Linked DNA regions of Homo sapiens: all the other regions are linked to region 1. Evidence: promoter capture Hi-C in 16 types of primary human blood cells and fetal thymus (Javierre and others, 2016). All regions are on one chromosome and are shown on one strand. The core of a region is centred on a gene start or on the middle of the fragment in contact, and the rest is flanking DNA. Distances in the headings are between cores, read along the strand shown. Region 1 holds the start of CALML6 (calmodulin like 6). Region 2 holds the start of SSU72 (SSU72 homolog, RNA polymerase II CTD phosphatase). Region 3 holds the start of FNDC10 (fibronectin type III domain containing 10). Region 4 has its middle 3.2 kb from the start of FAAP20.

Region 1 (5,741 bases), core at 1,947-4,446:
CTCTTAAGGTCCTCAACTAACTGGATGCGGCCCCCCCCTACATTATGGAGGGTCATGTGCTTTACCCAAAGTCTACTGATTTAAATACTTTTTCTTTTTTTTTTTGAGGTGGAGTCTCGCTCTGTCTCTCAGGCTGGAGTGCAGTGGCACGATCTCGGCTCACTGCAAGCTCTGCCTCCTTGGGGTTCACGCCATTCTCCTGCCTCAGTCTCCCAAGTAGCTGGGACTACAGGCGCGCACCACCATGCCCAGCTAATTTTTTTATTTTTATTTTTAGTAGAGACGGCATTTCACCATGTTAGCCAGGATGGTCTCGATCTCCTGACCTTGTGATCTCCCTGCCTCGGTCCCCCAAAGTGCTGGGATTACAGGCATGAGCCACCATGCCCGGCCTACTGATTTAAATACTAATCACATCTATGAAACACCTTCATGCCCGCCCATATTCATTGCAGCAGCAGTTCCAACAGCCAAGAGGTGGGAGCACCTAAGTGTTCATCAGCAGATGGTGGATAAACCGAGTGTGGTCCATCCCGAGAATAACATTTTACTCAGCCTTAAAAAAGACGCCTATTCCAGGCCGAGTGCGGTGGCTCATGCCTGTAATCTCAGCACTTTGTGAGGCCCAGGTGGGCGGATCACAAGGTAAGGAGATCGAGACGATCCTGGCTAACACGGTGAAACCCCGTCTCTAGTAAAAGTATAAAAAATTAGCCGGACTTGGTGGTGGGTGCCTGTAGTCCCAGCTACTCGGGAGGCTGAGGCAAGAGAATTGCTTGACCTGGGAGGCAGAGGTTGCAGTGAGCTGAGATCGCGCCACTGCACTCCAGCCTGGAGATAGAGCGGGACTCTGCCTCAAAAAAAAAAAAAAAAAAAAAGTCGAATTCTTTTTTTTTTTTTTGGAGATGGAGTCTCACTCTGTCACCCGGGCTGGGGTGCAGTGGCGCAATCTCGGCTCACTGCATCCTCCACCTCCCAGGTTCAAGCAATTCTCTGCCTCAGCCTCCTGAGTAGCTGGGATTACAGGCACCTGCCACCACGCCCGGCTAATTTTTTTATTTTTTTATTTTTTTTAGTAGAAACAGGGTGTAACCATCTTGGCCAGGCTGGTCTTGAACTCCTGACCTTGTGATCCACCCACCTCGGCCTCCCAAAGTGCTGGGATTACAGGCGTGAGCCACCACACCCGGCCCCCGGAGTCGAATTCTTAAAAACAGAAAGTAGAATAGTGATTGCCATAGGCTGGGGGGCGGGGGGTGGTGGAAGAGGGCAGATGCTGTTTAATGGGGGCGGGGGTCCGTTTTGCAAGGTGAAAGGTTCTAGAGATCTGCTGCATAACTGGGTACGGCCATGAACACAACTGCACTTGCACCTGAACGTGGCTGAGGCAGCATTCTAATTGTTACAGGGTTTTTCTCTTTTTCTGTTTTCTTTTCTTTTCTTTTTTTTTTTTGAGATGGAGTCTCGCTCTGTTGCCCAGGCTGGAGTGCAGTGGCGCGATCTCGCCTCACTGCAAGGTCTGCCTCCTGGGTTCACGCCATTCTCCTGCCTCAGCCTCCGGAGAAGCTGGGACTACAGGTGTCTACCACCACGCCTGGCTAATTTTTTTGTATTTTTTTTAGTACAGTCGGGGTTTCACTGTGTTAGCCAGGATGGTCTCGATCTCCTGACCTCGTGATCTGCCCGCCTCAGCCTCCCAAAGTGCTGGGATTACAGGCGTGAGCCACCGTGCCCAGCCTCTTTTTCTGTTTTCTTATGGAGAATAGCCCTTCGGTGATCAGAAGAGACACAAGAAGGAAAATAAAGATTGGATGAGTCTCAGGTCCTAGAGATACGGGGTATGTCCGAAGGCCACACAGAGGCTGGTCAGCATGAGGAGAGAGGGTTAGAGGGCGAGGACCTGTTCTGCTGCTTGTACTGGGTCTTGGATATGGGTAGAAGCCTAGATGGAGAGGAGAGAGGTTGATGGTGGTTGTGGCCATGTTGCCCCTTCCTACGGGCGGGGCGGGGGGTGTGCCCTCTGCTTTAAGTTGGGCTCCAGGGGTCACAGCTTTGAGTTTCACTCGTAAGCCCATCAGGATGTCTGGAACCTTCAGGGCTGTGGCCCAGGAATGTCAGACGCTGGAAGCCTGGGAACGGAGGAGGCAGAGCCTGCTGTCCACTGGCTGTGAGAGTTGTTGGGGTGGGGACTTGTCCAGGGCCACGAGGCCAGTGCAGTTCTCTGTGTCTCTGTACCCAGCTGGCCTGTACCTGGAGACCCTGAGCCAGAACCCAGGATGGGCCCTGGCCTGGGTGCTGCGGCTCCCTCCATTCTATGCCCCTGGGGGAAGGTGCTCAGTGCGTGAATTGTTCCCTGCCCCAGCCCAGGGGAAAGCTGAGGCCAGGGAGCAGCCAGGATGAAGGTCAGGGCCTCCCTTGGCCCCACCAGACCCAGGGCCGCTTCCCTCCAGCCCCGGCTCCCGTTTGGCTGGAGGTGCCCTGGGCCATTGGCCTGCCCTCGTCAGCGTCAATCTTGCAGTCTCAGCAGCTGGCCTGGGTTTCAGCGGGAGCCATCCTGTAGCTGCAGGTTTGCTGGCAGGCAGAGGGTTGGGCTGGCGGGGGACACTGAGTGCCCCACCTGCTCAGACTCTTCATGCCATCAAGGGGCCAGTCGGGGGGCAGGTGTGAGTGTGACCCTGAGGGCCCTGACCTGCCACTGCAATCCTCACACTCTTGCCTGGGTGGGGCAGGGAGGAGCTGGACCCTGGCTTTGGGAGTCTGGTGGGTAATTAGACCCAGACAGGGAGGGCTCAGTGCGGGTCTGAGGAGGGAACACACGTGTGCAGGCGTGTGCTCCACGGTGGCATGTTGATACGGACCAGCCTGGGCACCAGGCCCCCTCGGGAGCCAGCTTTGCTGTTCTGAGTGGAAGGGAGATCAGGTTTCCCTGAGAAACCCCAAAATAGCCCCCAACTGTGCCTGGCTTCCAGCGGGCAGCCCAGCCCCCAGGCCCTGTTTTGCTCCCTTTCCCCCTTCACCCCCAGCCCATGTCCTGCTGTCTCCTCCCTGAATGGTGGACCCTCAGCCCCTCCTGTACAAGATGGTCAAGCGGTGCCTCATGCATTTGTTCATTCGACCTGTCCTGAGAGTTTGTGACATGCTGGCACGGGGCCAATGTTGAGTCCACCAGGATGGGAGGGTGGCCAGGCTCTGAGCCACTGAGCACCAGCTGGCCAGGATGGGTCTTCAACAAGAAATCTCACTGGTAAGTGATGACAGCATGGGACCAGGGTCCCATGAAGACCTGCTGGAGGGCCGCACCTCTGGGAAGGTAGACTTGGAGCTTGGTCCAGTGAAGAGGGAACAGCACGGGGAACAGCGTGTGTGAGGGTCCCGCCATGTCTCAGCCCTTTCCTGGCCCCCGCACTTAGCCTTCGGTGCCCATCTTCAGGGTCAGGGGAAGCCCAGGCCAAAGCGGGCCGGGAAGGGGCCCTGTGGATAAGGCCGAGAGCCTGTCCCAAAATAGGGCCGGCAGGATTTCCCACCCATAAAAGGCTCTTGGAATCTGGACCCCGGGGACCCCAGGCAGCCAGGCCCAGCTAAAACTCAGCTGCCACCACTGCCCCAGCACTCTGCCCACAGCAGCCCTGGTGTCACCACCCTGCAGAATCCTGTCAGACAACCACCGACATGGTAAGGCTGCTCTCTGTGCCCGATGGAGTCTCTGGTGGGCTGGCTGGGTAGGTTGAGCTGGAACCTGGAGGTGCAATGACCTGCCACGGAGCCTGGGCAGGAAGGGGCTGAGGTAGAAGAGGGGGCCAAGCCCTGCTGCCACCAACACAGCCCTTGTTCCGGGGCCAGGGTGGAGCAGCCCTTTCTGAAAGCTGGCTCCCAGATGGGCAGCAGCAGTGGTGGCAGGCAGGTGTGGCCCGGTGCTGGACTCTCCCTCCGGAATGCCACACAGGCTGGAGCCCAGGGTTCTGCTTCCTGGGCTGTATCCCAATCCTGGGCTGGAAGCCTTTCCCGGGCCAGGGCTGGGCTCCTCCCCACCCTGCTCTCGGCTTCCTTCACCTGCCTCACCTGGTGTCCATTGCCAGGCTCCAGGGCCGCTGCCTGGCCCGCCTGGCCCTGCAGCTGCTGCTGTTCCCTCGCACGCTGGCTCCTGCCTGTCTGGCCCTTGCCCCTGTTAGCTGCCTGGCAGAGCCCTGCTGGCCCTGCAAACCCCTGGCGTGTGACCCCTTGTCCTGGAAGCCTGCTCTCCGCTGGGGGCCTCCTCTCTTACCACTCACCTTGAAAGGCTGCCAATGGAGGAATGGGTGCAGGGGGTACCTCTGACCCTTCCCTGGACACAGGGGCAGAAGGGGCTCCTGGTCAGGCCGGTGCGGGTGTCCCCTGCAGACAGAGCGCCTGTCGGCTGAGCAGATCAAGGAGTACAAGGGAGTCTTTGAGATGTTCGACGAAGAGGGCAACGGGGAGGTGAAGACGGGGGAGCTGGAGTGGCTCATGAGCCTGCTGGGTATCAACCCCACCAAGAGTGAGCTGGCCTCAATGGCCAAGGATGTGGACAGAGACAGTGAGCTCATGGCTGGAGTGGGGTGGGCAGCCTCGGGGGGGCCCTGGGTCAGGTGTCAGTGCCTACGGGGGGAAGAGGCAAAGCCCATGGGGAGTGCTGTGCCCCATCCCTTGAGCCCCAGCTGTGCCCCTTGCAGACAAAGGGTTCTTCAACTGCGATGGTTTCCTGGCACTAATGGGAGTTTACCATGAGAAGGCCCAGAACCAGGAGAGCGAGCTGAGGGCGGCATTCCGTGTCTTTGACAAAGAGGGCAAGGGCTACATTGACTGGAACACACTCAAGTAGGGCCCGGGTTGGGGGCGGGTGGTGGGCGGGCACGGGCAGGGCCGATGGAGTGGCTCAGCGCCAGGCCCCGTAGGTACGTGCTAATGAACGCAGGGGAGCCCCTCAACGAGGTGGAGGCGGAGCAGATGATGAAGGAGGCCGACAAGGATGGGGACAGGACCATCGACTATGAGGGTGAGTGGCCTGGAGCCCTGGGAGCCGTTGGCTGGGCCGGGGCAAGCTGCTGACCTGCCCCTCTGTTCCCAGAGTTTGTGGCCATGATGACGGGGGAGTCCTTCAAGCTGATCCAGTAGGTGCAGCTGCCGCAGCCGGGGGAGGCCTGCCCGGGAAGGCTGCTGCCCCTGCCCCCTGGCCCCCACTCCCCCGGCTCCGTGTAAAATAAATGTTCCAGCCCAACCTGTGTGTGCCTCACTGTCCCAGCCTGGGTTGGGGGGCAACAGGCAAAGGCGTGGGGCTGGAGAAGGAAAAGAGTTTTCCTGGCCCAGTCACAGAAACAGCCCCAGTCATTTCTGCCACGACACCTGACACCACCCATTGCCCAGCTCAGGGCTAGGAATGCCAGCCTGAAACCTGGACTGGGTACAGGCCGGGGACCACACGCTCGCCCTTCCTGCTTGCACTGGGGGTTGGCTGCCCAAGGGTTCCTCCCAGAGCCCTGGAGTCCCAGAGTCCTTCCCACATAGGCAGAGACCACTTAAATACAAACTTTATTCTCTCTCCAAGAAGATGCAGACGTCACAGGTGGCCCTGAGCTCCCACCCGAGGCTTAGGCCCAAGGGGCCTCTTCCAGGCTGAGGGCCTGCTGGGGCTGGGCCAGGGGCTGAGGCTGAAAGCAGCAGCCTGCCTAGTGGGTGACGCCAGGGGCCGGTGTAACATGGCACCGAGGTTGGGGCCACAGCAATGT
Region 2 (5,741 bases), core at 2,418-4,917, 340 kb before region 1:
AATCGCGCCACTGCACTCCAGCCTGGGCGACAGAGTGAGACTCCATCTCAAAAAAAAAAAAAAAAAAAAAAAAAAAAAAAAAAAAAAGTTAGCTGGGAGTGGTGGCAGGCGCCTGTAGTCCCAGCTACTCGGAGGGTTTGAAGGAGAATCGCTTCAACCTGGGATGCAGAGGTTGCAGTGAGCCAAGATCGTGTCATTGCACTCCAGCCTGGGCGACAGAGGGAGACTCCGACTTCAACAAAAAAAAAAAAAAAGGAAATTGAAGGTCTATGTCTAAATTAACTTCATGATATCCATATTCATGATATCCATAATAGATGTCACCTTAAATTTACTTCCTTTTGACTCTCTTCTGAGTCTACTCTTTTATGAGTAAATTTGAATGATGGCGGCACAGGTAAAAGCACACCCAAGAATTCATTATTCAGAGGTGCTCTCCGCTCCTTTTCCAGAGACCACAGCTCTGCCAGCAACGGCCACTGGCCACTCTGAACTAAAAAGGACTTGGTCATCTTCAGTCATCGTCTCAGCGAGGTTATGACTGGCATGTCTTTAAAGTAGCCGCTAAACCTGATTTTATTAACAAGATAGCTAAATAATTTTTTTTTTTGAGACAGAGTCTCGCTCTGTCACCCAGGCTGGAGTGCAGTGGCCGGATCTCAGCTCACTGCAAGCTCTGCTTCCTGCTTCCCGGGTTCACGCCATTCTCCTGCCTCAGCCTCCTGAGCAGCTGGGACTACAGGCGCCCGTCACTATGCCGGGGTCATTTTTTTGTATTTTTTGTAGAGACGGGGTTTCACCATGTTAGCCAAGATGGTCTCGATCTCCTGACCTCGTGATCCACCTGCCTCGGCCTCCCAAAGTGCTGGGATTACAGGCGTGAGCCACCGCGCCCAGCCCTAAATAGAATTTTTAAAACATTTCCTTTTGTTAAGATTTCTACTCCATCTTGCCAGGCGCAGTAGCTCACGCCTATAATCCCAGCACTTTGGGAGGCCCACGCAGGCGGATCACGAGGTCAGGAGATCGAGACCATCCTGGCTAACATGGTGAAACCCCGTCTCTACTAAAAATACAAAAAAATTAGCCGGGCGTGGTGGCGGGCGCCTGTAGTCCCAGCTACTCAGGAGGCTGAGGCAGGAGAATAGTGTGAACCCAGGAGGCGGAGCTTGCAGTGAGCTGAGATAGCACCACTGCACTCCAGCCTGGGCTACAGACTCCCCCTCAAGAAAAAAAATATATATTCTACTCCAACTTTATTTTATTTATGTATTTATTTGAGATGGAGTCTTGCTCTGTCGCCCAGGCTGGAGTGCAGTGGCATGATCTCGGCTCAATGCAAGCTCCGCCTCCTGGGTTCATGCCATTCTCCTGCCTCAGCCTCCCGAGTAACTGGGACTGCAGGCGCCCGCCACCACGCCCGGCTAATTTTTTTGTATTTTCAGTAGAGACGGGGTTTCATCGTGTTAGCCAGGATAGTCTCAATCTCCTGACTTTGTGATCCGCCCATCTCGGCCTCCCAAGGTGCTAGGATTACAGGTGTGAGCCACTGCGCCCGGCCTACTCCATCTTTGTTATGCAGGTACAGCAGAAAATCTTGAACAAAGGATCACCAAGGAGAACCAGCAGAACCAGAAGGTCTCCAGCCCATTTGTTATTCCAATTAACAATAATTTTGTCTTGGGGGGGGGGGGGTGAGCCTTGCATTGTTTTGCTTAAATGTATCAAATTTTTACAGGTAACTGCAGTTTATAAATGAAGATCCAGCACAATGTAATTCTAGCACATTTCTAGTTTTAAAAACAACCTTTGGCCGGATGCGGTGGCTGACGCCTGTAATCCCAGCACTTTGGGAGGCCGAGGCGGGCAGATCACCTGAGGTCAGGAGTTTGAGATTAGCCTGGCCAGCATGGTGAAGCTCCGTCTCTACTAAAAATACAAAAAAAGCCGGGCGCAGTGGCTCACGCCTGTAATCCCAGCACTTTGGGAGGCCGAGCGGGCAGATCACGAGGTCATAAGATCAAGACCATCCTGGCTAAGATGATGAAACTCCGTCTCTACTAAAAATACAAAAAAAAAAAAAAATTAGCCGTGCCTGGTGGCCGGTGCCTGTAGTCCCAGCTACTCGGGAGGCTGAGGCAGGAGAATAGCTCGATCTCGGGAGGCACAAGTTGCAGTGAGCCGAGATCGCGCTACTGCACTCCAGTTTGGGCGACAGAGCAAGACTCTGTCTCAAAAAAAAAAAAAAAAAAAAAAAAAAAGAAAGAAAAGAATAAAGAGAAAGAATCAGCAGATCATGAACACTTGACACTGATTTTTGGGGGGTGTTTTTTGGTCTCCAACTCCTGACTTCAGGTGATCCGCGTGCGTCGGCCTCCCAAAGTGCGGGGACTACACGCGTGAGCCACCGTGCCTGGCCCACGTGACACTGTTAAAAACGGAAAAAAAAGGGGGACTGTTAATTTTCCCAAGTTGCTCAGGAAAGTTATAGCTGGACTGCGAGAAGAGAAGCGAAACACTGTTTTCATTTAAAGTTCACGTAGGTAACTTTGGAGGTAAAAAAGCCATTTCAACTTTCTTACTATCAAAGTTGACACATACCAAATTTTAACTGTAAGTCAAGTGGTCAGTTTCTCAGTTTGCTATGTGACTGAACAAAAAACTTGTTATCAAGCAGGAATAAACTTTCATTAGACATACGCTACGCAAGAGTCACAGGCGGCCAGTTAGCAGGGAATATAAACTAGCAGAGCCAAACCAAGTCCACGTTGTATTCCAGAAACTACCGGTTGGAGGCGTTCCAGGGAGGAAGAGAGGATCTTTCGCAAAAAAAAAAAAAGAAGAAGAAGTAGCAAACACACAAATCCATGGCATTAAAAAAAGAGACCGCTTTGTTATTTACAACATCGTGGTATGCCGTGATTGTGTTGCGCGCCGTTTCCAGGGAAGGTGGCCAACGACGCACACGAAATACCATGATCGGCCGCCGCCGCGCAGCCCCTCGCCGCGGACGCTACCCTCGCCCCCCGGGCCCGGCCTCGGAGAGCTCGAAGGACCACCGGACAGCGGGCGCCTCGTCCCGGAACCTGCCTTCCCTGTGATGCCCACCCGCGTGTGGACTACGCGCGCTGCCGTCCAGCTGCCATCCCAACCAGCCGACCCACGAGCGCGGCCCGGCCCGGCTTCCTCTCAGGGGTCCTGGCGCGGGCCAGGGGGAACCGGGGAGGAGGGAGGGCCGGTCGCCGGAGCAGAGCGCGCGGGGACAGGGTGGAGCCCAACTACCTGAGGATGTTGTGCGCCTCCATGCTCCGGTTCTGGTTGCTCGAGCACACCACCGCCACCCGCAGCGGGGACGACGGCATGGCGGCGGCCGCAAATCCCGCGGCTCTCCCGCTTGGGTTCCCACCCTACCGCGGCGCTTCCGCGCGAACAAAATGGCGGCCGCGGTGGCCGGAAGCGGGCGACGCGAAACGACGGCGCCGGCGGTGTAGCGTGCGGCGACTGCGCGGCGGCCTCCCCGCCCACCCTGGGCGCCGGGCCGCGGACGGAGCGCAGGCACTGGCCTTCGGGCGCGCTGCACTCGGCGAGGCCGGGGGCGGCCAACGCCGCGCCGGCCCCCGGCGTCCGCAGCAGAGACCCGCACTCCACAAGGCCCGGCTGAGCGTCACGGCGCCAAGCGGCGGCGTCCTGACATCAGCACCCCGCGCCGGCGCCTAGTGTGACGCGACGACGTGCGGAACAACAGGACGTCATAAGGTGTCGCCGCCGCCTTTGGGAGCGATGCGAAACGCCGCGCTTGCCGGAGATAGCATTGAGGGCCCTTCCGCGGCCCGGCGTTTCGTCTCTTGGGACGATTTTGTGCGTTCCCTCGGTCCCCGTGGGGCCCATAGTCCTCACTTCTGCCACCCCAGAGTCGTCGCGCTTCACTAGACCCGCTCCCTCCACTGTCCCGGAGGCCCACAGACATTCCCGCATTCTGAGGCTCGCTCCCGTCCCGTGCCGCTGTTACCGGCCTCCGGCCCCGGCTCATACAAGCAGGAGCACATCGCTCTTTTATGAAAGCCCTTCAACATTTAACGTTTAAATGCGAGGGCCGACCTGTGACAGACCTGGTTGGGAGTGCACGTCGACTAGGATCTTCCTCGCCTCGGGCTTCCTTGGAGAGGCCGCCGGCTGGTCTGAGATTTGGGTCCAGTTACAGTAAATCCAGTCAACGCGAGTGTGTCATTCCCCAGCTATGCCTGTCTGCCTGGATGCAGCCTCGCGGTGGACAGTGGGCTGATGTTTTGCCGTGGGAGCGCCACGGACGGGAGAGGGAGTGATAATGATTGTCAACCTAATAACAGGCTAACTGAAAATGATATTTATTTGGGAATAGGGCGTTGGCGAATATGCGTGCCATAGTAAACGATTTGCGCATTCAGGAAAGTAATGGTTTTTAAAGAAAAAATGAAGAGGAAGATAATGGTTTGGAAATAATTAACCTTGGCTACAAAGAACAGTAACAAGTGTACTCCCGGCCGGGCGCGGTGGCTCACGCCTGTAATCCCAGCACTTTGGGAGGCCGAGGCGGGCGGATCACGAGGTCGGGAGATCCAGACCGTCCTGCCTAACCCGGTGAAACCCCGTCTCTACTAAAAATACAAAAAATTAGCCGGGCGTGGTGGCGGGCGCCTGTAGTCCCAGCTACTCGGGAGGCTGAGGCAGGAGAATGGCGTGAACCCGGGAGGCGGAGCTTGTAGTGAGCCGAGATCGCGCCACTGCCCTCCAGCCTGGGCGACAGAGCCAGACTCCGTCTAAAAAAAAAAAAAAACAAGTGTACTCCCGTTCCAGGGTTGGACAGGCAGTTGCTGGGCAGCTGTCCTTGCTGAAGTATTTTTTGTGTAAGATTGCCTTAGTGCAAGGTTGTGGTTTTTGCAGAATCTTGTGATAGTTTTTCTTATTATTGATTCATGAGAATTCTCCATGGCCTTTCCCAGCTGTCTTTGTCAAGGTATTTTTTAAACATAAGTGAGTCCACTTTTATTTGACAACTTGGGTATTTTCCCCTTTTGATTGAGATCTTTCTCCAAATGCATCACTAATGAGTCATCCTGTAATTAGGTTTTGATAGTCCCCGTGCTGGGATGAACTTGTCCCAGATAGCTGGTCTGGTCCCACACTGGAGAGAGTGGCTGCTGGGAGTCATTGTCAAAACCCTTTTTTACCATATTTGAGCATCAAAGGAGGTTTGAAGGGTGTGGCTCTCAGGCTAAGTCTAACCTGGAGTCCATTATTAACTTCAACTTTTGTCACTTCTGTAGTCTTTCTATCATCTCAAAGTGCTGTGTCAGCATTATTCTGTTAGAAATTGTACTTGTAGCCGGGCGCGGTGGCTCACGTCCGTAATCCCAGCACTTTGGGAGGCCGAGGCGGGTGGAACACGAGGTCAAGAGATCGAGACCATCCTGGCCGACATGGTGAAACCCTGTCTCCACTACAAATACAAAAGTTAGCCGGATGTAGTGGTGCGCACTTGTAGTCCCAGCTACTCAGGAGGCTGAGGCAGGAGAATCACCTAAACCCAGGAGGCGGAGGTTGCTATGAGCTGAGATTGTGCCTATGCAGTTCACCCTGGCAACAGAGTGAGATTCCATCTCAAAAAAATAAAAAAAAAGAAATTGTCCTTTTGCAAAATATGGCAATGAATAAGTTTAAAAGGGGAAAATACAAGGTAAAATCAATAATAATATGACTATCCC
Region 3 (5,741 bases), core at 1,168-3,667, 320 kb before region 1:
CGCCGTGGGAATGGGCTATTTCTAAGCACGGCAGGTACCGTCTTCCCCTTCCCCCGCCAACACAGCTGGCCCAGGACAAGAAGGTGCAGAGACAAACAGGGGGCACCCTGCCTGTCCTGCTAGGAACTGCAAGGCAGCGTGCCGCACACGCTGCCTGGGCCAATGCCACCCAGGCCAGGAGAGGGTTTGGGGCCAGACACCAGCCCATACCCAAGGGTCCCAGGGGATGTGGGGAGAAGGGGAATCCACCTTTTCCTTCCCTCCCACCTCCCAAATAACACACAGACAGCTCTGTTGGTCTGAGAATGATGGACATTTAGACACTGGCGCCAGGTTTGCGCCTGACCGGCGCCACGCAGGGGTGGGCGGAGCAAAGACACACAGGTGGGCTACAGGTGTCACACGGCACCAGCCAGGGCCCGGGGTGGCTGGGGTGAGGATGGGTGTTTGGCCAGTGACCAGGAGTCAGGTCAAGTCCAGGTGGTCAGTGCCAGGGGCTCCAGGAGGGGAGGGCAGTGCCATAACCCTCCTGGTGTCCAGCGTCACCAGGCGGTCGTCACAGAAAGCAACCTCGGCCCGGGGCCCGGGTCTGCAGCAGGTGGGCAGGGTCAGCTTTTCTTCCATGGCGGGTGGCATTGTCTGGGCCGGATACTGGCTCTCGACCCCTGGGCATGCAAAGGCTAGGGGTGGTGCTGTCAGTCACACCGTTGCCACCAAGGTCCCCTGGGTCGGCTGAGGCTTGGGATCCAGGCAGCGGTGGAAGGTCGGGCTGCTCAAGGCCGGTATCTAAGCTTCTGCCCTGGGACCCAGTGGTGATGGCCGCCATCTGCCCCATTCCCACAGGGACCTAGTCAGAGGTCGCACACACAAAAGGGGTACCTGGCCCTGGAGAACCACCAGCTGCCCGGGGTCTGAGAACACTCACCCTGGCCGCTGGGCCAGGCCTGCCAGGCTCCCGGCTGGTCCAACACCCTAAACGGTACAGAGCGCTGCAGGCCCTCACCTCATGCTTCTGCAGCGCTTGAGGGTGAAGGTGTCTCCAAGGGGACGCTGGCCAGATGCATGGAGAGGCCGGCCAATCTTAGGGCCACAGACCCCCCCTGGACAGCAGAGGGTGTTGGCTCCTGCAGTGGGCCCGAGATACTAAGGCACGAAGCTAACCTAAGCCCAGTGGGGTGGGGCGGGGCAGGACAGGCTTGGAGAGCTGCGCCCCAGGCCTGCAAAGCACAGTGACCGAGCAATGGCGACGGTCTGTCTGGGACAATTCGGCACAGGATGGAGGTGCGGGGTGAGCCGGAGTGCCCATGGCTCTTGCTGGAAGGGGCTCCATGCCCTGGCCGCCTCTATAAAGGCCTGCGGAGAGCGGGGAGAGCCCTGGATGCGGCTGGCACAGCAGCGCAAGCCCAGGGGCCAATCCGGGGCCAGAGTCTGGGAGTCTGACGCCCGGCTGGAAAGGGCGTGTGATGATGCCAAAGTGCCGGAGCCGTCGCCGGCAGGTCCTCCTCCGCGGGGATCTTAAGGAGGCAGCAGGAATGAGGAGAGGAGAGCGGGCGGAGGACCTGGGAGCTCAGGCGCCCTCAGGCAGGTGGCGCAAAGATGGGCGGGCGGCCTCGCGCTTCAGGGGTGTCTGCGCAGGCCGGGGCGCGCGAGGGCCGGGCGCATGAGGTTCTCGGTGATGTAGGCCACCAGCAGGCAGATGACCACCAGCATGACGCAGATGGAGCCGCCCACCGCCGTCATGGCCACCACGATGTCCTGCATGCCGGCCGGCTCGGCGGTGAACTCCACGCACTCGGCCGGCTCGGGGGTCTCTGGCGCGGCGGCGGCGGGCCCAGCGCGCAGCGGCAGCGGCTGCAGGCACAGGCGGTAGAGGACGCTGTCGTGCACGTCGGGCAGCAGGTAGTCGCGGCAGGAGGCCCCGAGGAGCACGCGCTCGCACGGGAAGCGCGTGTAGGCGCCGCGCCACGAGCAGTTGAGCGCGAAGGCGCGCACGCGGCGCGCGGCGGCCGGGGCCAGGCGCCACTGCAGGAGGACGCTGCGGTTGCGCAGGACGCTGGCGCGCAGGGAGCGGCCGGCCGGGGCGTGCAGCACGCAGCCCGGAGCCTGGCAGCGGAAGCCGCGCGCGGGGCTGCGGAAGCACAGGCGCCCGCCGCCCGCCTCGGGGCCCTCGGGCAGCACCTTGTAGGGGCACCAGGGCGCGTCGGGGGTCGGCTCCCAGCCCGGCGGCGTCGGGGCGGCCGCGGCGCAGGGCGGCGGCGCGCAGGCGGCCAGCAGCAGCAGCAGCGGCGGGGCGCGCATCCTGCGGCGGGGCCACGGGGCGCGGCGCTGGGTCACGCGGGCCGCGCCGCCGCCGTCCCCGCTGCCCGCTCCCCGCGATCCCCGGCGCGCCGCGCCCTCCGCCGCCGCCCGCTCCGACCCGCCCCCGCGCCCCGTGCGCGCTCGGACCCGGCGCGGCGGCGGAGGCGGGGCCGCCCCTCGCCCCGCCCCCCTTAACCCTCGCCGGGCCGCGGCCTACGGGTGCGGGGGATCGGGGGTGGGGGGGAGGAGGGGGACGCAGCGAGGCGGCCGGAGTGCCGGTGGGGCTGGGGTGCGGGCAGGGGCGCGGGGTGCGGGCAGGGCCGCCGCTCTCCCGGCTTCCCGCCTAGTGAGCGCACCTTGGACCCCTGCGGCTTTTCCGAGCCGAAACTCACGGGCTGTGGCCGGCTTCGTTTCGCGTCGTGCAGCTCCGCGACCGCCCGTGGCCACACCAGTCGGGGACTTCGTGCTTTACGATGGGGGCGCAGCGGTCTGGCACGCGCAGGACCCCGGGCCTTGCACCCCAACGCTGGCCGCCCTGGACCCGCGGCGGGGACCCGCGCAGTCAGGGTACCTGCCCATACCGATGGGGTGGGGACCAGCACGGAGACTTTCCTTCACCCCGCGGCTTCTGTTCCTTTCAGGACGGACAGCGCCCACCCGGAGGAAAGCCTGACAGATGAGACTTCGCAAGGTGAGAACTCCCTTCGCTCCACACGCAGCGGAGGCAGCTGCAGGGCGCCGACCTTCCCTGCCTCATTGCGCCCCCTCCTCCTCCAGATGCGCTCTGGGGGGCCCTCCCGATGGCTGTGGGGAGGTCAGGGCTGGACAAAGGGAATCCAAAAAGCCCACCCGGTGCACTGAGTAGGTGGCACCGACGGGGGAGGGGAAGGCGGGACACACCCCAAGACCCCTGCCCCTCATTCCCGTCCCTGCATAGATCACCCAGCAACCAGGACACCCCTCCAGGGCCAGGACTACAGCCAGGGACTGTGTATGCAGACGTGGCCGGGCCTGGCCGGCCTGCCCTAACTGGAAAGGAGGCCAAGCCTCGCACCTAAGGCTGGGCTGGCACCTCCGCTGAGCCAGCTCTGGGTCTGCAGGGGTTGTGGGGGGCTCTCTGGCAACTGGACCATGAGTTCCTGCAACCCCTTCCTGTGCTCTCCTTGCCTGGGGGCAGAGTGAGGAGAGACTGGCTATTCTGCTCACGGTGTCCTTGGTCCCCGACCTCTGGATGGCCATGTCTCCGCCCCCCCACGGAGTCACCACCCAGCCTCACGAATTCCTGGTCATCTTGAAAAACCCAGTGCAGTGGTCAGGACCCCACAGGATCTCAGGGGCTCTGCCAGAGCCCCGGCCCAGCGGTCAGGCCCCCACCAACTGTGGTCACGGTGCACCTCCGTCCCCGGCATGGAGGGCCCTGACCCCCTACACCAGCCTGTTGGGCCCCTGGCAGGGTCTGCTGAGGCCTCTGCACCTGGCGCAGAGAGGTTGGGGGCAGAGACCTTGGGAGAGGCGCTCCCTGCCCCCTGCCCCCAGCTCCCACCTCTGCTTAGGAAGGGCAAACCCTGGGCTCTGACTCTTGCCCCAGCGTTGTGAGGCGACTCAGGGGCTGCCCCAGGGAAGCAGAGAGTGATGGTGACTCAGGGGACCCCCATGTCCTTGCCCAGAACTCCCCAGGGGTTCAGCCGACCTACTGCCACCAGTTCCCAGTGGAAGCCCCTCAGCCCCCAGGTGTGAGGGCATGGGCAGTGGGGCAGGGCAGGAGCCTGGATGATGGTATATGGGGTGGGGCGGCCCCCAACTATCTTGGCATGTTGGCCTGAGGACAGCTGGGGCCTTCACCCTGTGCCATGACCATTCCAGCTTCTTGTAGCAGCACCTGCATTTCCCTCTGGGCAGCCCCCTTTATCCATCCTCAGGTCATGGGGAGCTTGGGTGGGGCTGACACTCCCCTGCCTAGGAGTTGGCAGATGACCTGGGCGCGGCCAGCCAGACTGGACCCCTTAGCCTCGAGGCCTTTGCTGAAGCTCATGTGAGGGGGCGACTGCCCCTGACAGGTGTTGGATTCCAGCTGCTGTGGCCCTGAAGGTGGGTGGTGGGAAGAACGGGAGAATGAAGCCAGCCTTGGGAGAGGTAGGACGCCAGCCCGGCCCAGCTGCTTCCAGCATCTGGATCCAGCCTCACCTGAAGCCAGCCACCTCCTGGACTGCAAAGTCATTGTCAACACCGAAACACAGGGTTTCTGACCATTGCAACCCAGGGTCCCGGCGTGTCGTGGCTGCAGACCCTGCAGACCCCTATGAAGATGGTCCTGCCTGCCTTGCATCGGGCCTCTAGCTAGGGACTGTGGTTGCAGACGTAGTTCTGGGACTGAGCTCCTGGTGAGAGGCCAGTGGTGAGGGAAGAGAGACCAGCAGAGAAAAGAGTGGAGCCTCGGGCTGCTAGCAGAGTGGCAGAAACCGAGCCTGCGAGAGGAAAACATTGTTTCCCGCGGCCTCCTGCTGAGCCATGGGGACCCAGATATTGCGAAGTCCAGCTGGGGCCAACCCTAAGGAAGGAAGGAGGGAAGGGGACAGGGAGGGGTGAGGAGGAGAGGGAGGGAGTGACCTCTGCTTAGCACCTGCACTTGAGCAGCGGTGGCCTTTCACGCGCACACGCTTCCCCACCTGGAGCGCCGTCTCCAATGCTGTTTGTACACACACCAGCATTCTGACAGTCACTAAATGTTTTCTTTGAATGAGTTCACTTTTTCACCTAGAGTGCTTTCTAAAAGCAGACCATGATCGTGAATAGTAAGTATCACTTCCATAAATAGAAAGTGTCAGAAAAATAACTATCAGACGTTTTCAGCTTCTTGTCTTGCTTGGAAGCATCAGACGGTCTCTGAAATGCTGTCCCTCTGCTCCCCAGGTTGGCCCATCCTCTGCCACAGCTTGAGCCCCACCCACGGGGTCCCTGCTTGATGAGTGCTTCCCCTGTCCTCTGAGACCCTACTTCTGCCCCCGGAGGGGTGTCTGTCCAGGGGACCCCTCAGAGGTCCCACCCAGCCACTCCTGATCTCCCCACACAGGTGACTGGGCCACGGGGGCTCGTGGGCAGCCCTGGCCAGGGCTCAGTCCTCACTGTAGCAGGGAAGCTGCCGGCCCTCTAGGCAGGCCGCCCTCTGGGAACCCCTCTTCTCTCCAACTGCCCCAGCTCCAGGACAGGTTGGAAATGCTTTTGCCTGGCAGGGGAAGGCTGGACCAGTAACGATGGAAGTCTCCAGCATTAGTGGAGACATGGGGGCGGGGGAGCTTCCAGAGACGAGGTGTCCTGCTGGCCATGGCCTTGAGGGAACCTTGCAGCTGGCACGGGGTCTGCTGGGACTTGAGCATGTGGGTCCCTGGGGACCTGGGGAATGGCTCCGATGCTTAGGAGCTGTAAGAATGAGAGCTCCAGGGCAG
Region 4 (5,741 bases), core at 943-3,442, 280 kb after region 1:
CTGCACCCAACAGCTCCCGCCCCCGTTTCCGGCTCTGCGGAGCCGCCTCTCCTCCCAGGACCATTCCAGGAGTAAATAAAGCTTGAAATCCGCCGTCGCCACCACCGTTTCTTTACAAAAGGCGGGGAACTCAAGCTCCTTAACCAAGAAACCAGAGGCGAAGTGACAAAGTCCAGGTGGCTCACTTGGGCCTCAGGGGCCTGGGCCAGGGCCCTGGGGGCAGCTGAGGGGCTTTCCTGCCTGGACCCCGGGCTCTGCGACCTCAAAGTCGGCCACGTGGTGGCAGCAGCCGCCCAGGCACCCTGGTGCCACACTTGGCTGTGCCCAGTGCCCCATGGGCCCAGGCCACTTGCCTCTCCCTTGGCCCTGCTGGGCCCTGGAGTGGCTGCCACCCTCACGGAAGGAGTGGGGTCTACAGAGATCAGGGTCAGGGGCCCTCGCCAGACGCCACTCAGGGCTCTGGGACTCCTTGGCAGTTTCTGCCCTGCCCAGCCCCAGCAGCTTTGGGGCTATGCTGGGCACCCCTCCTGCAGGGCTCCCTGGCTGTTCCTACCCCTCACCTGGCCCCTCCCAGCCCCCAGTCGTCTGTGCCCTCCCTCCAGAACTCAGCTGTGGAGCCCGGCCCTGAACCCAGGCCACCCGAGTGGCCCACCGTCCTTCAAGGGGCCCCAGCCTGGAGGCCATAGGTTGGTGTTCAGGGAAAGGGTCAGCAGCAGGGCCTGGACTGGGAGGTCCCCCTCTCCCTGCATGAGTGGTTTTCTTCCGCACACCTTCCTGCTCTAGATGCTGGAGGCCCCCAGCAGAACAAGATGGAGGCACCAACCCCCAGGCCCTTCGACTTGAGTGAGCAGATGGAGATGCAGCGCTGAGTGCTGCCCGGGCAGGGGGAGGGGGCCTGGGGGAGCTGCTGCAGGCCGTGTGGTCTCAGGGGGCCCTGTGGGAGGTAGCCTGTGGCTGGGCCTGCTCTCAGGCGAGAGAAGCCCAGCCGTGGGGTCTCTGCAGCCCCACGTCCACCACATGGCAGGTGCCAGCTGACCAAGCGCTCTCAGACAGCCAGTGTCCAGGGCTCCCCGACAGTCCTGGCTGCCCTGGCTTCAGCTCCGAGCTTCTGGGTCTTTCCTGGAAATGTCACCATGGTCTGCAGGAGGGCCTTGGGTACTTCCAGGAAGACTGGTCCCAGCCTCCCAAGACAGGAGAAAAGGCCAGGCCCAGCAGCCCATGCCTGCAATTCTAGGACTTGGGGAGGTCCAGGCAGGCAGATTGCTTGAGCCCAGGAGTTTGAGACCAGCCTGGGCAACATGGCAAGACCTTGTCTCTATAAATAAAAAATTAGCTGGGCATGGTGGCATGTGCCTGTGGTCCCACCTACTTGGGTGGCTAAGGTGGGAGGATCACCTGAGCCCAGGTAGGTGGGGGCTGCAGTGAGGCAAGATCGTGCCACTGCACTCCAGACCCCAACTCAAAAAAAAAAAAAAATAGGCCAGGTGTGGTGGCTCAAGCCTGCAATCCCAGCACTTTGGGAGGCCAAGTCGGGAGGATCACTTGAGGCCAGGAGTTTGAGACCAGCCTGGCCAACATGCAGAAACCCCATCTCTACTAAAAATACAAAAATTAGCCGGGCATGGTGGTGCACACCTTTAATCCCAACTACTTGGGTGGCTGAGGCACGAAAACCACCTGAGCCTAGGAGGCATAGGTTGTGGTGAGCCAAGATCGCACCACTGCACAACAGCTTGGGCATCACAGCAAGACTCTGTCTCGAAAAACAAAAAAAGACAGAGGAGAAAAGCCCTTGGTGACAAGTGTTTGCTCAGCTCTCTGTGCCGTGCTGGGGGTGGTGGGGGGTGTTCTTGCTCCTTCCTCTCCCTTCCCCACTCTGGCTCCCAACCCCAGGGTTCTGCTGTTGGACCCGGGGGTGGCTCCTGCCTCCTCCTCCTCTATGGCCCCCACATGGTCCAGTGCCCTCCTGCCATGGGACCGGCCGGCCTCTGGATGGGCTCCGAGCCCCCTGGGACCCATCTCCTTCCCTGCCTGGGTCCCTTGGGCAGAGCCTGGGAAACTCAGGCCCCTGCCCTGTCCTGGAGGACCATGTGAGGGACACCTGTGTGTGGCTGCTGCCCCAGAACAGGGGCCTTTCTGGGCGGGAGGACCCAGCCCCCACCCCTGGAAAGCCAAACACTAGAGCTTTGCTGGGGTCTTCAGCATCCTTCCAGCCCCTCCCGGCTCCCCCATGCAGGTGCCCTGGCCACTGGGCCCAAGAGGGGCAGAGCCGAGCAGAAGCAGGGCGGGGTCTCAAGTGACCCAGACCCGGGACACCTGCGCTGCCCGGCTGGCGCAGGCTGCTTGGGAAGCTCTCGCTGCGGGTGCCCCAAGGGTAGGAGGCACGGGCCTGCAGGGGACCTCAGGGCTGGCTGAGCCTGGCTCCAGCCCGCATCACTGAAGCTGGGGGGCCCCCATCCCCTTGAGTCTTAGCCACCCCAGTGGGCCTCATTTACCCTTGGCCACCAGGGAAGAGGAGCCAGGGCCCCAGGCCAGTGCCATGGGGCAGAAGGCAGGGCCTCTGGGCCTGGTGCTTTGGGGACGCAGAGGCAGCACAACGTGTCACAGTTGTCCTCCTGGGGGCTCTTCCCCTCCAGTTTATCTGCTGCTCTGGATTAATCTCCCCTCCTCCCATGTCACCACTGGGGAGGGGGCAGTGGGGCAGGCCCCTGTGACCTACAGCCAGAGATAAGTCCACAGAGAAAGGCACTGGGGTGACCTCTGCTCTGGGCACGTGGCGGGTGCCTCCACTTGTCAGGAAGCCTGACCCCCAATCCCCTCCCGCCTGACAGCTTCCCGACAGCTGCCTGCCAGCCGAGGGCCTGGAAGGGGACCGGCCACTCAAGACTCTCAAGACAAGGAAGCATGTTCACCTCCAACAAACATACCTTGTCCTGCCTGTCCTCAAGTTATCAGCATGACACAGCGGTGCTGGTGATGGTGATGGTGGAGGTTTCAAAGTTGAACCTGATGAAAACGCTCCACTTCTTCGGAGCCATCTGCTGCTGTGGTGACGGAGTTTTGCTTTATTGGAAAATAATTTCTGGTTGGGACTGACACGTGCACAGTGGAAATGAGTTTTTTCTAAGCCAAAATTCATGTTTACAAAAGAACGTTTCAGCTGTGGGAGTTTGCATCCCAGGCAGAGCAGAAGGTGATCGAGTGGGTGGGGGCATCAGAGCCACCCATCTCCTACTCCCGCACCTGCAGACCGGTGGGCTAGGAGGCCCCTTACCCTCTGTGGCAAAAAAGGACACATTTATGGATGATGAATCAGGCCCCAGCCCACTGAGCTGGTTTCAGAAGCCAGGCTGGCCGTAGGTCAGGGAGCCAGGCCTCTCCAACTCCTTCCACCGCGGAAGAACAAGTGTCCCAGCCACTGGCATCCTCAGAGTCACCCAAATGTTCATCTCTGCCCAGCGCTGACACCCTGCAAATCAGGCTAAGACAGCGGTGACGGGCCCTGAGGCTGGCAGGCCTAAGCAGCCCGGTGGCCGTGCACCCTCCCAATTTCCAAATGAGACCTGTGGCCGACAGGCACCCTGGGCACATGCTGAAGGCACTGGGCTGCCTCCACCCCTTCCCATGTGGCTAAATGGCCCAGCACCCACACACGGTGCCCTGGCAGTGCTCACCTGCTGGCAAGGACAGCCAAAAGGCCCGGGCAGCCTTCTGACGCAGCCAGGAACTGGGCTGTGCTCCACCACACCTGCTGGCCCGTGGATGCCAGGCAGGCACGCCCACCCATAGCCAGATGTGGTGGCATTTATGGGATACGGGAGTGCCAGGCAGACAGGCTGTGAGAGACAGTTGCCTGGGAAACATCGCCAGATCTTTGGGGCAGCAGAGCAGGTGCTCGGGCCCACACATGGGGTGCAAGAGTAGGGGTGTGCCTTGGTGCCCTTGGGCACCGACAGCCTCCTCACAGCCTCAGTGGCGGGGTCATGGCACAGGCCTGCCCCTGACCCCAAGAACCAGAAAGCCAGGAGCAGCTGGGGAGGGCCCTGGCCCGGGAGAGACAGCGGTCCTGTTTCTGAACCCCATCCCAGCCATGGCCTGTGTCTGGGCCAGCATCCCCGACCAGACAGGGCCAGCCGCCCTCTCTCAAAGTCCCCAGCACCCCTTCAAGCAGTATCCGGTTCACACCCTCCCACAGCCTGTCCTCCATCCCCACGTGTCGGGCTCAGCTTCCGCACCACTCAGCCCCCACCCAGGGGCGGGCTTTTATCAGCCCCAGATCCTGCTCTGACGTCCCCCCGCCCGGAGAAGCTTCCCCAGCCCAGCCCAGCCCAGCCCAGCCCAGGCTTCTCTCTCCACCCCACTGCCCTGCTGGGAAATTGTGAGCTCAGATGCTGATTGGTCTACCCAGGAGGGCGGTCCTGTGTGCTCTGTTCCCTGGGAAGCCTCTCAGAGTGCGCGGCACCAAGGAGCCGGTCAGGGAGTGGAGACCTCTCAGGGCACCCCTCCTCTGGGGAAGGCAAGTCACAGAAACCAAGCTGGAGGAGCACTGTGGGTTGAGCAGCGTCTCCGAAGACTCATGTCCACCAGTACCTGAGAAAGTGGCCTCGCTCGGAAGCAAGGTCTGTGCCGATATAATCAAACCAGGATGAGGCGATACTGGGTTAGGGTTGGCCCTGAATGCAGTGTGAGCAGTGTTCTTGTAAGAAAAGGAAAATTGTCCGGGTGCAGTGTCTCACGCCTGCAATCCCAGCACTTTGGGAGGCCGAGGCGGGCAGATCACTTGAGGTCAGGAGTTCTAGACCAGCCTGGCCAACATAGTGAAACCCCGTCTCTACTAAAAAACACAAAAATTAGCTGGGTGTGGTGGTGGGCGCCTGTAGTCTCAGCTACTCGGGAGGCTGAGGCAGGAGAATCGCTTGAACCCAGAAGGCAGAGGTTGCAGTGAGCCAAGATTGTGCCATTTTACTCCAGCCTGGGCAACAGAGCAAGACTCCGTCTCAAAAAAAAAAGAGAGAGAGAAAGAAAAGGAAAATTGGCCAGGTGCTGTGGCTCATGCCTGTAATTTCAGCACTTTGGGAGGCCGAGGCAGGTGGATCATGTGAGGTCAGGAGTTCGAGACCAGCCTGAAAGACATCGTGAAACCCCATCTCTACTAAAGATACAAAATTAGCTGGGTGTGGTGGTGGGCACCTGTAATCCCAGCTACTTAGGAGGCTGAGGCAGGAGAATCGCTTGAACCCAGGAGGCGGAGGTTGCGATAGGCCGAGATCGTGCTGTTGCACTCCAGCCTGGGCGACAAGAGCAAAACTCTATCTCAAAAAAAAAAAAAAAAAGGTAAGGAAAATTTGGACACAGAGACACAGGAAGGAGGCTTTGGGGTTGGGGGTGGAGCAGCTGCACGCCAGGGAATGCCGGGGGCCCGGGGCTGGAAGGGGCAGGCAGCAGCCACCCAGAGCCTTTAGGCGGAGCTCCACCCTCCCAACCACTGATTTTGGACACCAGCTGCCTGAACTGTGAGAATATACATGTCACTCGTTTTAGGCTCCCAGTGTGTGGTCATTTTTTCACAGCAGCCCCAGGAGACACGCAGCAGGCTCCCGGCTTTCCAAGCCGCCACGCACCAAGTTCAGCTTGAAAACGCTGAGCCCAGCTGGGTGCGGGGAGCCCTCGGTCTCCTGTCCACCACACCCGGAGCTGAGGAAGAGGCTCCCCCATGGGCCAAGAGCTGGAAGGGGGCCCTT

Evidence for each region. Contacts are between HindIII fragments. The CHiCAGO score rates a contact against its expected background, and 5 or more counts as called.
Region 2: a contact is called between the fragment with the promoter of SSU72 here and the fragment with the promoter of CALML6 in region 1, in 1 of 17 cell types (neutrophils). The highest score is 9.9, in neutrophils.
Region 3: the fragment with the promoter of FNDC10 here is called in contact with the fragment with the promoter of CALML6 in region 1 in 1 of 17 cell types (neutrophils); the score reaches 5.5 in neutrophils.
Region 4: a fragment that was not itself captured here is called in contact with the fragment with the promoter of CALML6 in region 1 in 3 of 17 cell types (erythroblasts, fetal thymus and endothelial precursors); the score reaches 8.4 in erythroblasts.

The regions. Positions count from the first base shown.
Region 1 is chr1:1,912,064-1,917,804 of GRCh38, forward strand. It overlaps CALML6 (calmodulin like 6), which reads left to right and starts at 3,197. Exons shown (of 6, transcript NM_138705.4): 1 at 3,197-3,244; 2 at 3,622-3,672; 3 at 4,378-4,552; 4 at 4,689-4,833; 5 at 4,911-5,011; 6 at 5,084-5,233. The coding sequence starts at 3,218. The coding sequence ends at 5,130. TMEM52 (transmembrane protein 52) reads right to left here. Exons shown (of 5, transcript NM_178545.4): 5 at 5,528-5,741. RefSeq lists an enhancer at 2,018-2,704. The HindIII fragment of the contact is 9,795 bases long and covers 1-5,741 here.
Region 2 is chr1:1,571,196-1,576,936 of GRCh38, forward strand. It overlaps SSU72 (SSU72 homolog, RNA polymerase II CTD phosphatase), which reads right to left and starts at 3,668. Exons shown (of 5, transcript NM_014188.3): 1 at 3,283-3,668. The coding sequence starts at 3,362. It overlaps SSU72-AS1 (SSU72 antisense RNA 1), which reads left to right and starts at 3,752. Exons shown (of 1, transcript NR_197593.1): 1 at 3,752-5,741. RefSeq lists silencers at 3,152-3,231, 3,472-3,631, 5,291-5,460 and enhancers at 3,752-3,861, 3,872-3,941. The HindIII fragment of the contact is 11,232 bases long and covers 1-5,741 here.
Region 3 is chr1:1,597,718-1,603,458 of GRCh38, forward strand. It overlaps FNDC10 (fibronectin type III domain containing 10), which reads right to left and starts at 2,418. Exons shown (of 1, transcript NM_001242659.2): 1 at 295-2,418. The coding sequence starts at 2,298. The coding sequence ends at 1,618. LOC105378586 (a long non-coding RNA gene) reads left to right here and starts at 1,716. Exons shown (of 3, transcript NR_147951.1): 1 at 1,716-1,899; 2 at 2,940-2,989. RefSeq lists enhancers at 913-1,571, 1,572-2,231, 2,232-2,891, 2,892-3,551 and silencers at 2,025-2,144, 2,445-2,494, 3,908-4,050. The HindIII fragment of the contact is 12,096 bases long and covers 790-5,741 here.
Region 4 is chr1:2,195,080-2,200,820 of GRCh38, forward strand. It overlaps a transcript of FAAP20 not described here. Among named protein-coding and RNA genes, the nearest start is that of FAAP20, 3.2 kb to the left of the region's middle. RefSeq lists a silencer at 1-27 and enhancers at 661-1,327, 3,949-4,546. The HindIII fragment of the contact is 4,227 bases long and covers 80-4,306 here.